2 separate regions of the Homo sapiens genome follow, and region 2 is linked to region 1. The links are contacts of gene promoters, found by promoter capture Hi-C in human tissues and cell types (Jung and others, 2019). All regions are on one chromosome and are shown on one strand. The core of a region is centred on a gene start or on the middle of the fragment in contact, and the rest is flanking DNA. Distances in the headings are between cores, read along the strand shown. Region 1 holds the start of TPRX1 (tetrapeptide repeat homeobox 1). Region 2 holds the start of SULT2A1 (sulfotransferase family 2A member 1).

What was found. The method cuts DNA at HindIII sites, captures the fragments that hold promoters and counts their contacts. A contact is called where the count stands out against the background at its distance.
Region 2: a contact is called between the fragment with the promoter of SULT2A1 here and the fragment with the promoter of TPRX1 in region 1, in 14 of the 25 tissues and cell types used here (IMR-90 fibroblasts, aorta, heart left ventricle and 11 more).

Annotation. Positions count from the first base shown.
Region 1 is chr19:47,800,854-47,808,595 of GRCh38, forward strand. TPRX1 (tetrapeptide repeat homeobox 1) reads right to left here and starts at 3,698. Exons shown (of 3, transcript NM_001397346.1): 1 at 3,662-3,698; 2 at 2,651-2,820; 3 at 379-2,127. The coding sequence starts at 3,686. The coding sequence ends at 922. The HindIII fragment of the contact is 58,136 bases long and covers 1-7,742 here.
Region 2 is chr19:47,882,947-47,890,688 of GRCh38, forward strand. It overlaps SULT2A1 (sulfotransferase family 2A member 1), which reads right to left and starts at 3,369. Exons shown (of 6, transcript NM_003167.4): 1 at 3,176-3,369; 2 at 631-839. The coding sequence starts at 3,311. The HindIII fragment of the contact is 17,642 bases long and covers 1-7,631 here.

The DNA of each region.
Region 1 (7,742 bases), core at 2,448-4,947:
TCAAGTGATTCTCCTGCTTTAGCCTCCCAAGTAGCTGGGACTACAGGCACCTGCCAGCATGCCCGGCTAATTTTTGTATTATTATTATTTTTTTAGTGAAGATGGGGTTTCACCATGTTGGCCAGGCTGGTCTCAAACTCTTAACTTCAAGTGATCCACCTGTTTTGGCCTCCCAAAGTGTTGGGATTACAGGCATGAGCCACCGTGCCTGGCCCATTTTAATTTTTATTAATAACTTCATTGTGTTTTACAACATTATCAGTCTGCCACTGATGGAAATGAAAAATAAAACAAGACAAAACTGGTCCAAAACAATAGGTAATTTGAAAAGCAGTGAAATAGACAACATTAAAATCAAGAAATACTAATGAAACAAAATGCAAATAGGAAAGGTGTCTGCAGAACTTTAATTGCCAAGAGAATATAAGAATACATTCAAATAAATGAAGGAAAAGGGGTAAACAAATACACATTATGAAGATATCTAAGGTTCAATTAACATGTGAGGGTTTAACTTCTCAATCATCAGGGAAATGGATATTACAACCACAACAAAACCACAAGTCATTGGATCGACAAACATTAAAAAGTCTCACAATCCTAAGTGTTGGGGAAGATGCTGACCATCAGAAGCCCTGGGAAAAGCCCTTTAGAAAGCTCTCGAGCAGCATCCACTAATGCCAGATATCCCAGTGAGCAGCGACTCCAATCCCAGCAGAGAAACGCTCAGGCTCAATTCAAATGACAGGCAGGCACATTCACAGCAGAGCCACCTGTGATAGCTGCACAGTGAAGACAGCAAATGTCCACCTGCAGCAGGGTGGGTAAAGGGTGATGCATTCACTGCAGAAAGTCACCAGCAGTGTAGATCAGCCACTCCAGGCCCTCTGGGATCTGAAGAACTTTGCAGGCACAGGCCCCCTATAAATCCAGTAATAACCTGGGGCCTGAGTGATTTTCATTCACAGAGCCACCCTCCTCTTGGGGCTGAGACCCTGAGTGTTTTTTGCCCATAGAGTCATCCCCTTCTTGGTACTGAGAGGTCATGGTGGAGACTGAGGATCCCTCCAAGGGGTCTAGGGGTAGGAGCAGCTCTGTGAAGTGAGGGAATAACTGGGTGTCTGGCAAGAAGTCGGAGGCATCGGGGCTCTGAGGCCATAAGGGGGCTGGGGCTGGGAGTGATCCTGGGCCTGGGATTGGAGCTGGGACTGAGCCTGAGCCTGGGCCTGAGCCTGGGCCTAAAATCGGGGCTAGGCCTGGAAGTGAGCCAGGGCTTCGCATCCGGCCAGGACTTAAGATGGGACCTGGGCCTTGGAGTCTGCCTGGGCCTGGGATCTGGGCTGGGCTGGGAATCGGGCCTATAATTGGGCCTGGGCCTGAGATTGGGCCTGGGATTGGGCCTGGGATCAGGCCTGGGTTCGGGCCTGAGATTGGGCCTGGGATCGGGCCTGGGTTCGGGCCTGAGATTGGGCCTGGGATTGGGCCTGGGATCGGGCCTGGGTTTGGGCCTGAGATTGGGCCTGAGATTGGGCCTGGGATCGGGCCTGGGATCGGGACTGAGATTGGGCCTGGGATCGGGCCTGAGATTGGGCCTGGGATCGGGCCTGGGTTTGGGCCTGGGATCGGGCCTGGGTTTGGGCCTGAGAATGGGCCTGAGATTGGGCCTGGGATCGGGGCTGGGCCTGAAATTGGGCCTGGGATTGGGCCACGGAATGGGCCTGGGATCTGGACTGGGCCTGAAATTGGGCCTGGGATTGGGGCTGGGATCGGGCTTGGGATCTGAGCTGGGCCTGGAATTGGGCCTGGAATTGAGCCAGGGAGTGGGCCTGGGATCTGGGCTGGGCCTGGGATTGGGGCAGGGATCGGGCCAGGGCCTGGACTCAGGGCAGCTGGGATGCCCTTCTGGGCTCTGCACCCAGGGCCACCCCAGGCCTGGTGGAGGCTGCAGATCGTGGGTTCCGCCGCTGGAAGGATTCCCGAGGGGCCCCGCTGAGGTGCGGAGGCAGAGGCTGCAGGGACTAGGGGCGCAGCGCGGGCTCCTCGGCCTCTCTGCCCAGGGACGCGCTGGGGCTGCTGCTGGAGCCGCCGCTCCCGAGCTAGTTTGGCGCGGCGATTCTTGAACCACACCTGGGGGGCAGAGGGGACAGGGAGAAGGTGTGAAGGAGGGGCTCGCGCGGCCCAGTGAGCCTTTTGGGGTCGGGGCCAGCCTGAAGCCTCTCCCTGTGCTCAACAGCCCCCCATCCCCCACCCCACCAAAAGAGGGCCCCGGCTCCAAGGCCTGGAGAATGGAGGGAAGAGGGAGGGAAAAGTAGGGGGAGGAGGGTGGGGTGGGATGGGAGGAGCGGGGTCTGCCGCCCAGGTGCCCGGGGGGCCAGGGAGGGTTCGAGGGGAGGGACCGCGGGTTCTCACGGGTGCCTGAGGTCCGGGCACCGGGAGACCCCGTGGGGGACAGCCTGGGCCGATCATGTGGGCGAGTTTGGGCTAGCATAGAGTTGGAACAGGACTCAGGATGCAGCCCTGGTCTACACTGGCGGGACCCCTTGCGTGGCAGGGCGGGAGGTGGTCGGGCGGGCCAGGCCCCGGTGAGTGACAGCGGTGGGGAGGCTCCTTGGGGTGACTGGGGCGGGCAGGGTGGGGGTGGGGGTCAGACCTGCAGCTGTTGCTCCCTGAGGCTGAGCATCTCCGCCAGATTCAGTCGCTGGTCGTAGTTCGGGTACTGGTCCTTCTGAAAGTAAAATTCTAGCACTTTCTGCTGGCTTTCAGTGTAGACCGTGCGCTCCTGCCGCTGTCTCCTTGGAGGGTCCAGGGCCAGGGGAGGGCCTGGGGGTGGGAGGGAAACAGGTCACAGAAACCCCCAGGCAGCCCCCAGCCCCCCTAGGGACCCCGTCCCCTGCACCAGGCCAGGAGCCCAGGCAGTGTGGGCTGGGGCGGCACCGCGGATAGCAGCCTGGTATCCAGACCAGACCTTGCACCTCTCTGGGCCTCAGGGTCCACATCTAGGAAATAGGCGCGATAACAGCTCCTGGGAAGGCAGGCAGCGTAGGCGCCTCACCTCGGAGCAGACGGGGCTGCCTCAGGCCTGCTCAACCCTCCCCAGCTGCCCCGTCCCCTCCCATCCAAGGGTTATAGGGACCCTGACACTTGCAGGGGAGCCGCCACCTGCCCAGTCCTCTGCTCCACTCAACTGCATGGTTTAATTTCTTTCCTTCTTTCTTTTTCTTGGAGGGGATCTCGCTCTGTCACCCAGGCTGGAGTGCAGTGATGTGATCACGGCTCAAGTCAGCCTCCACTTCCTGGGCTCAAGGAACCCCCCGCCTTAGTCTCCCGAGTAGCTGGGACCACAGGTGTGCACCACGACCCCTGGGTAATTTTTGTATTTTTGCTAAAGACGGGTCTCCACTATGTTGGCTCGGCTGGTTTCAGAGTCCCGGGCTCAAGTGATCCTCCCACCTTGGCTTCCCAAAGAGCTGGGATCACAGGCGTGAGACGCTACACCCAGCTGCATGATTTTTCATTTCCCAGACACCACTAAGTTCTCCCCCGTCTGCAGGACAGGAAGCCGCCCGCACAGGCCCAGCCCTTCTCTGGCTGCCCAGATTTGCACTCTGCAGCCTCAGCCACAGGATCAGCCCAGACCCCTCACACCTCTGTCCCCGCTCACCTTGGAGATGACCAGGGTCTTGCATCCTGAGTCCTGATCTGTTCCCAAACACAAGTGTGTACTGACAAGGGCTTGGCTCTTAAATCACTTCTCTGCTGTGCCCACCCTGGCCCACCCTGCCGGGACCCTCCCTTTCCCACCCTGCCCTGCAGTCCCGCCCCCTGGAGGAGTTGAATGATGGATTAATCCTTCATCACTGATCAGGTACTGCCTGCTGAGCTGTGCTAGGAGCTGGAGAACCTCAGTGGACAACACAGCCTTGGTTTCACCCTCATGGGCCCTAGCCCAGGTGAGGTGGCATTCCATGCGGGTTTGGTTGGGGGAGTCAACATCGTGACCTGTGGTTGGGGTCCCCATCTCAGGAGAGGCACCGCCAGCCAGCCCCCAGGAGTCATCCTTGTTCCTTCCCAGGGCTGGGGCCCCGAGTGACCAATGCCGGTGAGTCTACCCACTCCTCCTGGCTCCTGGGCTGCCTGCCTTGTCCAGCCACTATCCCTCCTTCCTGGATGACCTTGCAACCTCCTCTTTGGTACCTCAAGGCCACTCTGGCCCCTACTATCCATTCCAAAAATTGCTCCCTAGGTGCCTATAGGTGTAAGCAGAGCTTAGTACACATTGGCCCTGCTGATAATGGTTTGGTTTCTGTAGTGGATTTGCCTATGGGGTGAAGTTCTGATAGGCATTCACATAGACCTCTGTTGGTTTCTCCTGGAGAGTAAATGACCTCAGTGCTGGTTTATTCCAGTTTATATACGGGGCTCGTGTGCTGGGTTCACATGAGCCCAGCCTCTCCAAGCTGCATAGACCTGTATCAGGAGGGGGCACAGGTCTGATGGACGTGCCCATGGACCGCTGCTGGTCTGCCCTTGTGAGTGAATGAACCTACTGCTGATGATACAGGGGACCCATGACCTTGGTCTACAGAGATCGGATCCCTCAGAGATGCGTCTTCTCTGTCAGACACCTGGCTGTCCTCATTTCCCCATGGCAGGACCCACGTGGGTTCAGGGATTAGAGAGATTGACAAGGCTCATGGTGCAGGGAACTAGAAATGACTCATGCAATCAATTTCAAAATTCAATAAAACGTAGACATTGTTACCACGGGCCTCGCTCATTGTTTTCACCTGCTACTTAGAGTTCTGCTGTAGAAAGCAGCATCCCCAGCAATGATTCCTCATCGCACACATTGTCCGGCTTCATCTACAGGACATGCTGGGAACACAGTAGTGACCACAGAGATTTTGCACCATGGCTATTTATTTGGTCAATAAAGACATAAACAGATGAACAAGCTCACTGGTACTATTTTGTGAAAATAGACATTTAAATATAAGCAAGTTCACGGCAGCATGATTCACTATCGCCCAAAAGGAGAAAATGCTGAAAACATCGATCCACTGATGCATGGATAAATAAAATGCTGCATGGCCAGGCGCGGTGGCTCACGCCTGTAATCCCAGCACTTTGGGAGGCTGAGGCAGGCAGATCACCTGAGGTCAGGAGTTTAAGACCAGCCTGGCCAACATGGCGAAACCCTGTCTACTAAAAATACAAAAATTAGCTGGGCGTGGTGGCCAGCACCTGAATTTCAGCTACTTGGGAGGCTGAGGCGGGGGAATTGGTTGAACCCGGGAGGCGGAGGCTACAGGGAGTGGAGATTGTGCCACTGTACTCCAGCCTGGGCAACAGAGTGAGACTCCATCTCAAAATAAATAAAAGTGGCTGGGCACGGTGGCTCACGCCTGTAATCCCAGCACTTTGGGAGGCTGAGGTGGACGAATCACTTGAGGTCAGGAGTTTGAGGCCAGCTTGGTCGACATGGTGAAAATCCGTCTCTACTAAAAATACAAAAAATTAGCCAAGCATGGTGGCGGGAGCCTGTAATCCCAGCTACTTGTTAGGCTGAGGTAGGAGAATCACTTGAACCCGGGAGGCAGAGGTTGCAGGGAGCTGAGATGGTGCCACTGAACTCCAGCCTGGGTGACAGAGGGAGACTCTGCCTCAAAAAACAAAACAACATCCCCCAAAAAAACCCACAAAAAATAGAAACCCAAAATGTCATATATTTACACAATGGGATATTACTCAACCATGAAAAGGAATAAAGCTCTGATACGTGCTACAACATGGATGAACCTTGCCAACATGATGCCGAGTGAAAGACGCCAGACTCAAAAGCACATATACGATTCTATTTATACAAAGTGTCCAGAATAGGCAAATCCATAGAGACAGAAAGCAGATTAGTGGTTGCTACGGGTTGGGGAGAAGGGAAAATTGGGACCAACTGGGAATAGCTATGGAGATAGCTATTGGGGACGGTGAAAAATGTTCTAAAATTGACTGTAGTGAAGGAGGCACAACTCTGCAAACAGACTAAAGACGATTTAATTTTTTTTTTTTGAGATGGCGTCTTGCCCTGTCACCCAGGCTGGAGTGCAGTAGTGGTGTGATCTCGGCTTGCTGCAACCTCCATCTCCCGGGTTCAAGTGATACTCCTGCCTCAGTCGCCCAAGTAGCTGGGATTACAGGCATGCACCACCACGCCCAGCTAACTTTTTGTATTTTTAGTAGAGAATGGGTTTCACCATGTTGGCCAGGCTGGCCTCGAATGCCTGACCTCAAGTGATCCACCCATCTCGGCCTCCCAAAGTGCTGGGATTACAGGTGTGAAACACCGCGCCCGGCCAAAACCATTTCATTTTGTACTTTATGATTATTCTTTTCTTTTTGTTTTGCCGTGTTGCCCAGTCTCGTCTCGAACTCCTGAGTTTAAACAACCAGCCCACCTTGCCTCCCAAAGTACTGATATTACAGGCGTGAACCAGCGTGCCCGGCCTGAATTGTATACTTTATTTAATTAAATTTATTTATGTATTTGTTTTGAGACAGAGTCTCTGTTGCCCAGGCTGCAGTGCAGTGGATTGATCTCAGCTCTGCCTCCTGGGTTCAAGTGATTCTCATGCCTCAGCCTCCTGAGTAGCTGGGATTACAGGTGTGTGTTACCACACCCAGTAAAAAATTTTTTCTATTTTTAGTAGAGATGGGGTTTCACCATGTTAGCCAGGCTAGTCTCGAACTCCTGGCCTCAAGTAATTCGCTCTCCTTAGCTTCTCAAAGTGCTGGGATTACAGGCATGAACCATGGCACCCAGCCCTGAATTGTATACTTTAAGTGGGTACTTTTATATTACGTGGATGACATATCAATAAAAAATATAAATTAATGCAAAACTCAGCATATTGCCCTGTGGATTGGCCAAGATCAAAGAGATGGATCAAGTGTAGACCCAGAGAATGTGGTTTTCTCTTGCCATTGATGAAGTGTAGGTTGGTAAAATATTTTTGGAGGTTTTTTTTTGAAATTGACTCTGTGACATCTATTAAAGGATGAAATGTGTATAGTACCCTTTGACTCAATGATTTTTTTTGAGACAGGGTCTTGCTCTGTTGCCCAGATTGGAGTGCAGTGGAGTCAATCGAAACTCACTGCAACCTCGAACTCTGGGGTTTAAGCGATCCTGCAACCTCAGCCTCCTGAGTAGGTGGGACTACAGGCAAGTACCACCATGTCCGGGTAATTTTCTTATTTTATTTTATTTTCTTTATTTGTTTTGAGATGGAATTTCACTCTTCTTGCCCAGGCTGGAGTGCAATGGCGCGATCTCAGCTCACTGCAACCTCCGCCTCCCAGGTTCAAGCAATTCTCCTGCCTCAGCCTCCTGAGTAGCTGGGATTACAGGCACCCACCATGATGTCTGGCTAATTTTTGTATTTTTAGTAGAGACGGGGTTTCACTGTGTTGTCCAGGCTGGTCTTGAACTCCTGACCTCAGGTGATCCACCCGCCTCAGCCTCCCAAAGTTCTGGGATTACAGGTGTGAGCCACCATGCCTGGCCAATTTTCTTATTTTATTTATTTATTTATTGAGACCGAGTCTCGATCTGTCACCCAGACTAAAGTGCAGTGGCTCTGCACTTTAATGCAGATATCGGCTCACTGCAACCTCTGCCTCCTGGGTTCAAGTGATTCTCCTGCCTTCCGAGTAGCTGGGACTACAGGCGCCTGCCACCACATCTG
Region 2 (7,742 bases), core at 2,119-4,618, 82 kb after region 1:
CTATAAACACCTTCCAGGAAAGTACAATTCTAGAAGCAGTCTGAGCCATGCAAGGTCCTGGATATGCCTTGTCCCTCTTGTGATCACCCCTCTGCCCCATGGGAGATGCATGTGGCTGCTGATATCAACACATATTTACACACAGTAAGACGAAGTGTGTACAGAGCCCAGTCCTGGCCCCGGGGCAGTCAACCTGGATACAGGCATTGATTGATGAACATGCTGCTTCCCATAGGAACACCTCTGTGTCTTTTCTGTGGCAGGAGGCATTTGTTGAATTCAGATTGGCTAATTATTTTTTAGGGCAACCAAAGGCGGTTATCTAGTATATAATATGGCTATACATTCTGATTGCACTTAGAACCTAGTTTTCTAAGATTCTGGGTTAGTGTTTTCACCCTATCCCTGGTTTAAATCTGGCTGGGGTAATCTGTGGAATGGTCTATATCCTTGAACTCAAGGACAGTTCTGGGAGCAGCCACATAGGTGTCACCTAATACGGAATCTCAGGTCTCAACAACACAGACCTGTTGAAGGAGAATGCATTTCAGCAAGATCTCCAGATGACTTATAGGCATATCAGTGTTTGAAAGGCACTGATCAAACACGTCTTAACCATTATGCACTGACCTTGGCCTTGGAACTGAAGAAAGACTTGGGGAATAACTGGATGGGGAGGTGGGAGGAGAATAAACGTGGACTCTCCGTTTCACTGAGTGCTGTATACCCAATCTCACTCTCTACCCAGGGTGATCGCTCCCAGATGGGCACAGATTGGATCCACTTGGCATCCCCCTTGGAGTGCATCAGGCAGAGAATCTCAGCCAACCAGTTTGTTCCTGGAAAAAGAAGGAAAAAAATATATAAAATGTACCATCTCAGCCGGACATGGTGGCTCACGCCTGTAATCCCAGCACTTTGGGAGGCTGAGGCAAGTGATCATGAGGTCAGGGGTTCCAGAATAGCCTGGCCAAGATGGTGAAACCCCGTCTCTACTAAAAATACAAAAATTAGCCAGGTATGGTGGCGGGCGCCTAAAATCCCAGCTACTTGGGAGGCTGAGGCAGAGAATTGCTTGAACCTGGGAGGCGGAGGTTGCGGTGAGCCGAGATCGTGCCATGGCACTCCAGCCTGGGCAACAGAGTGAGACTCAGTCTCAAAAAAAAAAACAAAAACAAAAACAAAAAAAAGTACCATCTCAACCTTAATTTTTTTATTATTTATTTATTTATTTATTTATTTTGAGACAGAGTCTTGCTCTGTCACCCAGGCTGGAGTGCAATGGCACGATCTCAGTTCACTGCAAGCTGTGCATCCCGGGTTCATGCCATTCTCCTGCCTCAGCCTCCCAAGTAGCTGGGACTACAGGCGCCCACCACCACGTCTGGCTAATTTTTTTTTTAATATATTTTTAGTAGAGATGGGGTTTCACCATGTTAGCCAGGATGGTCTCGATCTCCTGACCTCATGATCTGCCTGCCTCGGCCTCCCCAAGTGCTGGGATTACAGGCGTGAGCCACTGCGCCTGGCTTTTTTTTTTTTTTTTTTTAGCGATGAGGTCTCCCTCTGTAGCCCAGGCTAGAGTGCAGTGGTGCAATTATAGCCCACTGCAGCCTTGAACTCGGGCTCAAGTGATCCTTGTACTTCGGCCTCCTGCTTCAGCCTCGCAAGTATCTGAGACCTCAGGCATGTGCCATCGCGCTGGGCTAATTTTTTGAAAAAATTTTATTGTAGAGATCAGGCCTTGCTATGTTGCCCAGGCTGGTCTTGAACGCTTGACCTCAAGCAATCTGCCTATCTTGCCCTCCCAAAGCACTGGGACTGTAGGCGTGAGCCACTGCAGCCAGCTCTCAACCACTTTTTTTTTTTTTTTTTTTTTTTTTTGAGACAGAGTCTTGCTCTGTCACCCAGGCTGGAGTGCAGTGGCATGATCTTGGCTCACTGCCACCTCCATCTCCTGGGTTCAAGTGATTCTCTTGGTCAGCCTCCCGAGTAGCTGGAACTACAGACGTGCGCCACAGCGCCTGGCTAATTTTTTATTTTTAGTAGAGACGGGGTTTTGCCATGTTGGCCAGGCTGGTGTCGAACTCCTGACCTCAGGCAATCCACCTGCCTTGACCTCCCAAAGTGCTGGGATTACAGGTATGAGCCACCATGCCCAGCCTGTCAACCACTTTTAAGCCTACGGTTTCGTAGTGTTAAGTGTTAAGTATATTCCCAGTGCTGCTCAACCAATCTCCAGAGGATTTTTGTGTTGCAAAACCGAAACTCTATGCAGAGCCAGCACCGACTCCCCATTTACCCTTCTCTTCAGCCCCTGGCAGCCGCCAGTGTACTTTCTGTTTCTATGGACTTGATGACTCCAGGTACCTTATGTAAGTGGAATCACACACTATTTGTATTTTTGTGACTGGCTTATTTCATTTAGCATAATGTCCTTGATGTTTATCTCTGTTGTATCATGCATCAGAATTTTCTTCCTTCTCAAGGATGAATAACATTCCATTATAGCTATATACCACATTTTGTTTATTCACTCACCTGTCAGTGGATATCTGGGTTGCTTCCATCTTTTGGCTATTTGCTGAAATCCCTCTTATTATGTTCCCATTGCTCTTGGCCTCTCAGGGCCATGCCACTTCCAATGTCTTCAGCCTCAATCCTCACCGCATCCGCAGTGCTCTTACCGCCCTCCACCCACAGCCCCACTCCCAGAGACATATGATCCTCATCTTTCAGCCCCTTGAGATTGCCTGGCTCTTTTGTGGTTCCTGGCCATTGCCCTGATGATTCTCCTATCTGAAAATAGCCCTCCCCCCAAGTAATTTCATACTCATTCTTTGCATTTCCATTTAAATGCTATTTCTTCTTTCAGGACATCATTGGTCATCCTCAGCCATCCTCCCTCCCACTGCCACCAAACAAACACCTGAATTTGCCTTGGGATTCACTCCTGTGGATTCTCCTAATACCTTAGATTACCCCTCTGAACACTCATCCTACTGTGTAATTTCCTGACTAAATCCTTTTCTCTGATTGTCAATGGTATTAGGCATTCCTCTCTTCCCCTTAAAGCATTGTACACTGTCTGACATAAAGGAAGAACTCCAATCATGCACTGAATGGACAGGAACACAACCACAGCCTTTCTCAGTTCACGATTCTGCCTCCTTACCTGATTTGGGGTAAGTCAATATTATTACATCTTCATCCCTTATCACGAACTCATCACGTACTTTTCTTAAGGTTTCGGATCTGAAACCCATAGTAGGGAAAGCTATGCCTTCAAACCATAAGAAATCGTCCGACATGATGATGACCTCTTCCTGCGTGGTGTGAGGGTTTCAACTGTAGCCACCGCTGGAGGCTGTGGCAGCTACAGGCAGATCAGCTTTTACAGCAAGGATAAAACGATCTTTAACCTTGTCCCAGCATGTCACATGTTTGTTGTAAAGTTTACTTGCTGATAAAGAGAGGTATAATGTGACCCATACTCAAAAGATTGAAGATGTTGAGCAATCATGAACTTATCTAGAGACCATTTTAGGGGTCATCTGAGCTTGCGTTCCTGAGAGTGAACTGCAAGATCGAATAACAAACACGAGGACAAATATTTTTTTTGATAATATGGGTGAATTTATTTCTTAAGGTTTGAGTGCAAACTTAAAAACAAGAACAAAGCTTTTCATCAAGCATAAACACAAAATCTAAATAATCCTGCAATCGTGCATTTTAACAGAAAGTACAAATATGAATACATTATAATTTGTAACTGCATTTAAAAATTAAAATATGTCTCTCCAAATCCAAAAGACCACACAGTCTTTATCTGTTCTCATCTTGTTACCTTAGAAACATTTGTCATATGCTCTCAGGAAAATATAGGCAAGAATTACTAATCAGTTATTCACGATCAAAGAAACATTATTCTCCCTGAGACTTTTTGAATCATTTATCTGTATTTCTGAAGTATCACACAATTATACCTCCACTCTAGAGAAAAAAAGAGTAAGTACAAATATTAGCAGTGTATATATTGTAGTAAATTTTTAAAGTACAACTTTAGTTGATGGCTGACGTGTATGTAATAATTGTGAACAATTTAAACGGTATAAAAATGTGAGATGAAAATCTTTAGACTCAAATACTTGAAAAGTCACTATGAATATGGAAAGATTTGTTTGCATAAACATGTATGTTTTTAGATGGAAAATCAAGAGGTAGTGGCATCTCCCTGTTTCCTTAATAATATTTGGATTTTCACAAAGAATTGGCAGCACCCAACCTTAAGTGTTAATTATGTGTTTGTTTGTTTTTTTTTTTTTTTTGAGATGGAGTCTCACTCTGTCGTCCAGGCTGGAGTGTAGTGGCGCGATCTCGGCTTGCTGCAAGCTCTGCCTACTGGGTTCATGCCATTCTCCTGCCTCAGCCTCCAGAGTAGCTGGGACTACAGGTGCCCGCCACCACGCCCAGCTAATTTTTTGTATTTTTAGTAGAGACGGGGTTTCACCGTGTTAGCCAGGATGGTTTCAATCTCCTGACCTTGTGATCCGCCACGCCCAGCCTAATTATGTGTTTCTAAAGGACCTATACAACAGATCAGTTGGCAGTGTTCTAGCTTTAGGGAGATGGGGGTGGATTGGGGGTGCAAATATCTGAGATAAGATAATGCATGCACTCACACATTTAAAATCACCATTCTAAATGGGAAAAAAAAATCACATATTGGGAAAGTCCAAGAAACTCATTCTTAAGGGATAAACAGCAGGGCAGGAGCAAAAGCTGAATAGAAGTCTACTTGATAATAATGTTTTTTCACTCTTCAAAGGCAAGTTGGGAAGAATGAGAATACTCACATACACATAACTTCAGGGAAAACGTGCCTAGAATTTTACCTTGCAAAACACTGAACAGAAATCTTTACAAAAACCTTCATTCTTGGTCTGGGCACGGTGTGGTGGCTCACGCCTGTAATCCCAGCACTTTGGGAGGCCGAGGCGGGCGGATCACGAGGTCAGGAGATCGAGACCATCCTGGCTAACACGGTGAAACCCCGTCTCTACTAAAAATACAAAAAATTAGCCGGGCGTGGTGGCGGGTGCCTGTAGTCCCAGCTACTCAGGAGGCTGAGGCAGGAGAATGGCATGAACCCGGGAGGCGGAGCTTGCAGTGAGCCGAGATCTCGCCACTGCACTCCAGCCTGGGCGACAGAGCGAGACTCCGTCTCAAAAAAAAAAAAAAAAAAAAGGAAAGAAAAAAAGCCTTCATTCTTGTTTATAATACTTGATTTTTCCCTTATTACCACCCTGTACATCACATTTAAGTATTTTCTTTATAAATATTTTAGAGCAAAAAGAATTTATTTTGTTGCAATGGTGGCCCACATCTGTACAAAACAACCTAAACAAGATATATATGTATATATATATGCATATATATATGCGCATATATATATGCATATATATAAAATGATTAAGAAAAAGTGCAAAGAATAACAGTATTAAGAATTTTTGCATTTTATAGTAACTGTGGTTCAAGCGTGAATATCTATCAGCGATATATAATCCCAGGTTTTACTTTTTAATTTTATTTATTTATTTATTGTTTTGAGATGGACTCTTGCTCTTGTCACCCAGGTTAGAGTGCAATGGCATGATCTCGGGCTCACTGCAACCTCCGCCTGCTGGGTCCAAGCGATTCTCTTGCCTCAGCCTCCTGAGTAGCTGGGATTACAGGCGCCCACCACCACGCCTGGCTAATTTTTGTACTTTTAGTAGACATGGGGTTTCACCATGTTGGCCAGGCTGGTCTCAAACTCCTGACCTCGTGATCCACCCGCCTCGGCCTCCAAAAGTGCTGGGATTACAGGTGTGAGCTACTGCGCCCGGCCAATCCCAGGATTTAATTAAAGATTCAAAAACAAACCACACTCCAAATTACTGCACAAACATCGGTCCCTTATCAAGCAAGTCTGCCCTTCTCCTGAATCTAGTATTTCCAGTTTCTAAACTCTTCCCAAACAGGAAAAAAATATTTTTAATACGCCTCATTTTTTAGGGCACTTTTAGACTTACAGAAAAATTGCAAAGAGAGTACAGAGAGTTCCCATAGTCCATACTTAATTTGGATTTCCTTAGTTTTTATCTCATGCTCGTGTTTTTTTTTTTTTTTTTTGACAGAGTTCTCTCTTTGTTGCCCAGGCTGAAGTGCAGTGGCATGATCCTGGCTCACTGTCTCATGCCCTTTTTTTGCCCCAAAATCCCATCCTGTATAGTACATGACATACACTCATCCTGTCTCCTTGGGCTCCTCTTGGCTGTGACAGTTGTTGCTCAGACTTTCCTCATTTTTTTTTTTTTTGAGATGGAGTCTTGCTCTGCTGCCCAGGCTGGAGTGCAGTGGCACAATCTTGGCTCACTGCAGCCTCTGCCTCCCCAGTTCAAGTGATTCTCCTGCCTCAGCCTCACGAGTAGCTGGGATTACAGGCACGCGCCACTACACCCGGCTAATTTTTGCATTTTTAGTAGAAACGGGGTTTCACCATATTGGCCAGGCTGGTCTCGAACTCCTGACCTCAGGTGATCCGCCCACTTTGGCCTCCCAAAGTACTGGGATTACAGGTGCGAACCACTGCGCCTGGCCGACTTTCCTCATTTTTGATGACCTTGATGGTTTTGAAGAACACTGGTGAGGCATTTTGTACAATGTTCCTCCTTTGGGATTTATTGCAGGTTTTCTCATCCAACAAATGAGTTCATGGGTTTTGGAGAGGAAGGTCACAGAGGTAAAATACCATGATCATCACACCATATCAAGGGGACTTATTAGCAACATGACCTGGCACTAATGATGTTGACCTTGGTCACCAGAGGTCACTTGACTTTTCTCCCTCTTCCCTTTCTATGTGGCCATATTTTAAACATAAACTCTAGGCCTGAATATATTAGTGAGATAACATTATATGAACCCCAAATGAGGGACAGTCTGCAAAATGACGGGCCTGTACTTTTTAAATTGTGAAAAAATTTTTTTTTTTTGAAACGGAGTCTCGTGCTCAGTTGCCCAGGCTGGAGTGCAGTGGCACGATCTCAGCTCGCTGCAAGCTCTATACCTCCTGGGTTCACGCCATTCTCCTGCCTCAGCCTCCCGAGTACCTGAGACTACAGGTGCCAGCCACCATGCCCGGCTAATTTTGTGTATTTTTTTAGTAGAGACGGGGTTTCACCGTGTTAGCCAGGATGGTCTCGATCTCCTGACCTCGTGATCCGCCCTCCTCGGCCTCCCGAAGTACTGGGATTACAGGCATGCGCCACTGCGCCTGGCCTATTATTTATTTTATTTTATTTTGAGATGGAGTCTCACTCTGTTGCCCAGGCTGGAGTGCAGTGGTGCAATCTCAGCTCACTGCAACTTCCGCCTCTCCAGTTCAAGTGAACCTCTTGCCTCAGCCTCCTGAGCAGCTGGGATTACAAAGGTGTGCCACCATGCCCAGCTAAGTTTTGTACTTTTAGTAGAGATGGGGTTTCACCATGTTGGCCAGGCAGGTCTTGAACTCCTGATCTCAGGTGATCCACCTGCCTTGACCTCCCAAAGAATTACAGGCATGAGCCGCCACGCCTGGCCATACTTATATCTTTTTTAAAAAGACAAAGGATATTATTATTTGACAGAAAAGGGAAATAAAAGGACCATTAAACCATACAATTGATTATTAATCATACCTGTAATCAGGGAAATACAAA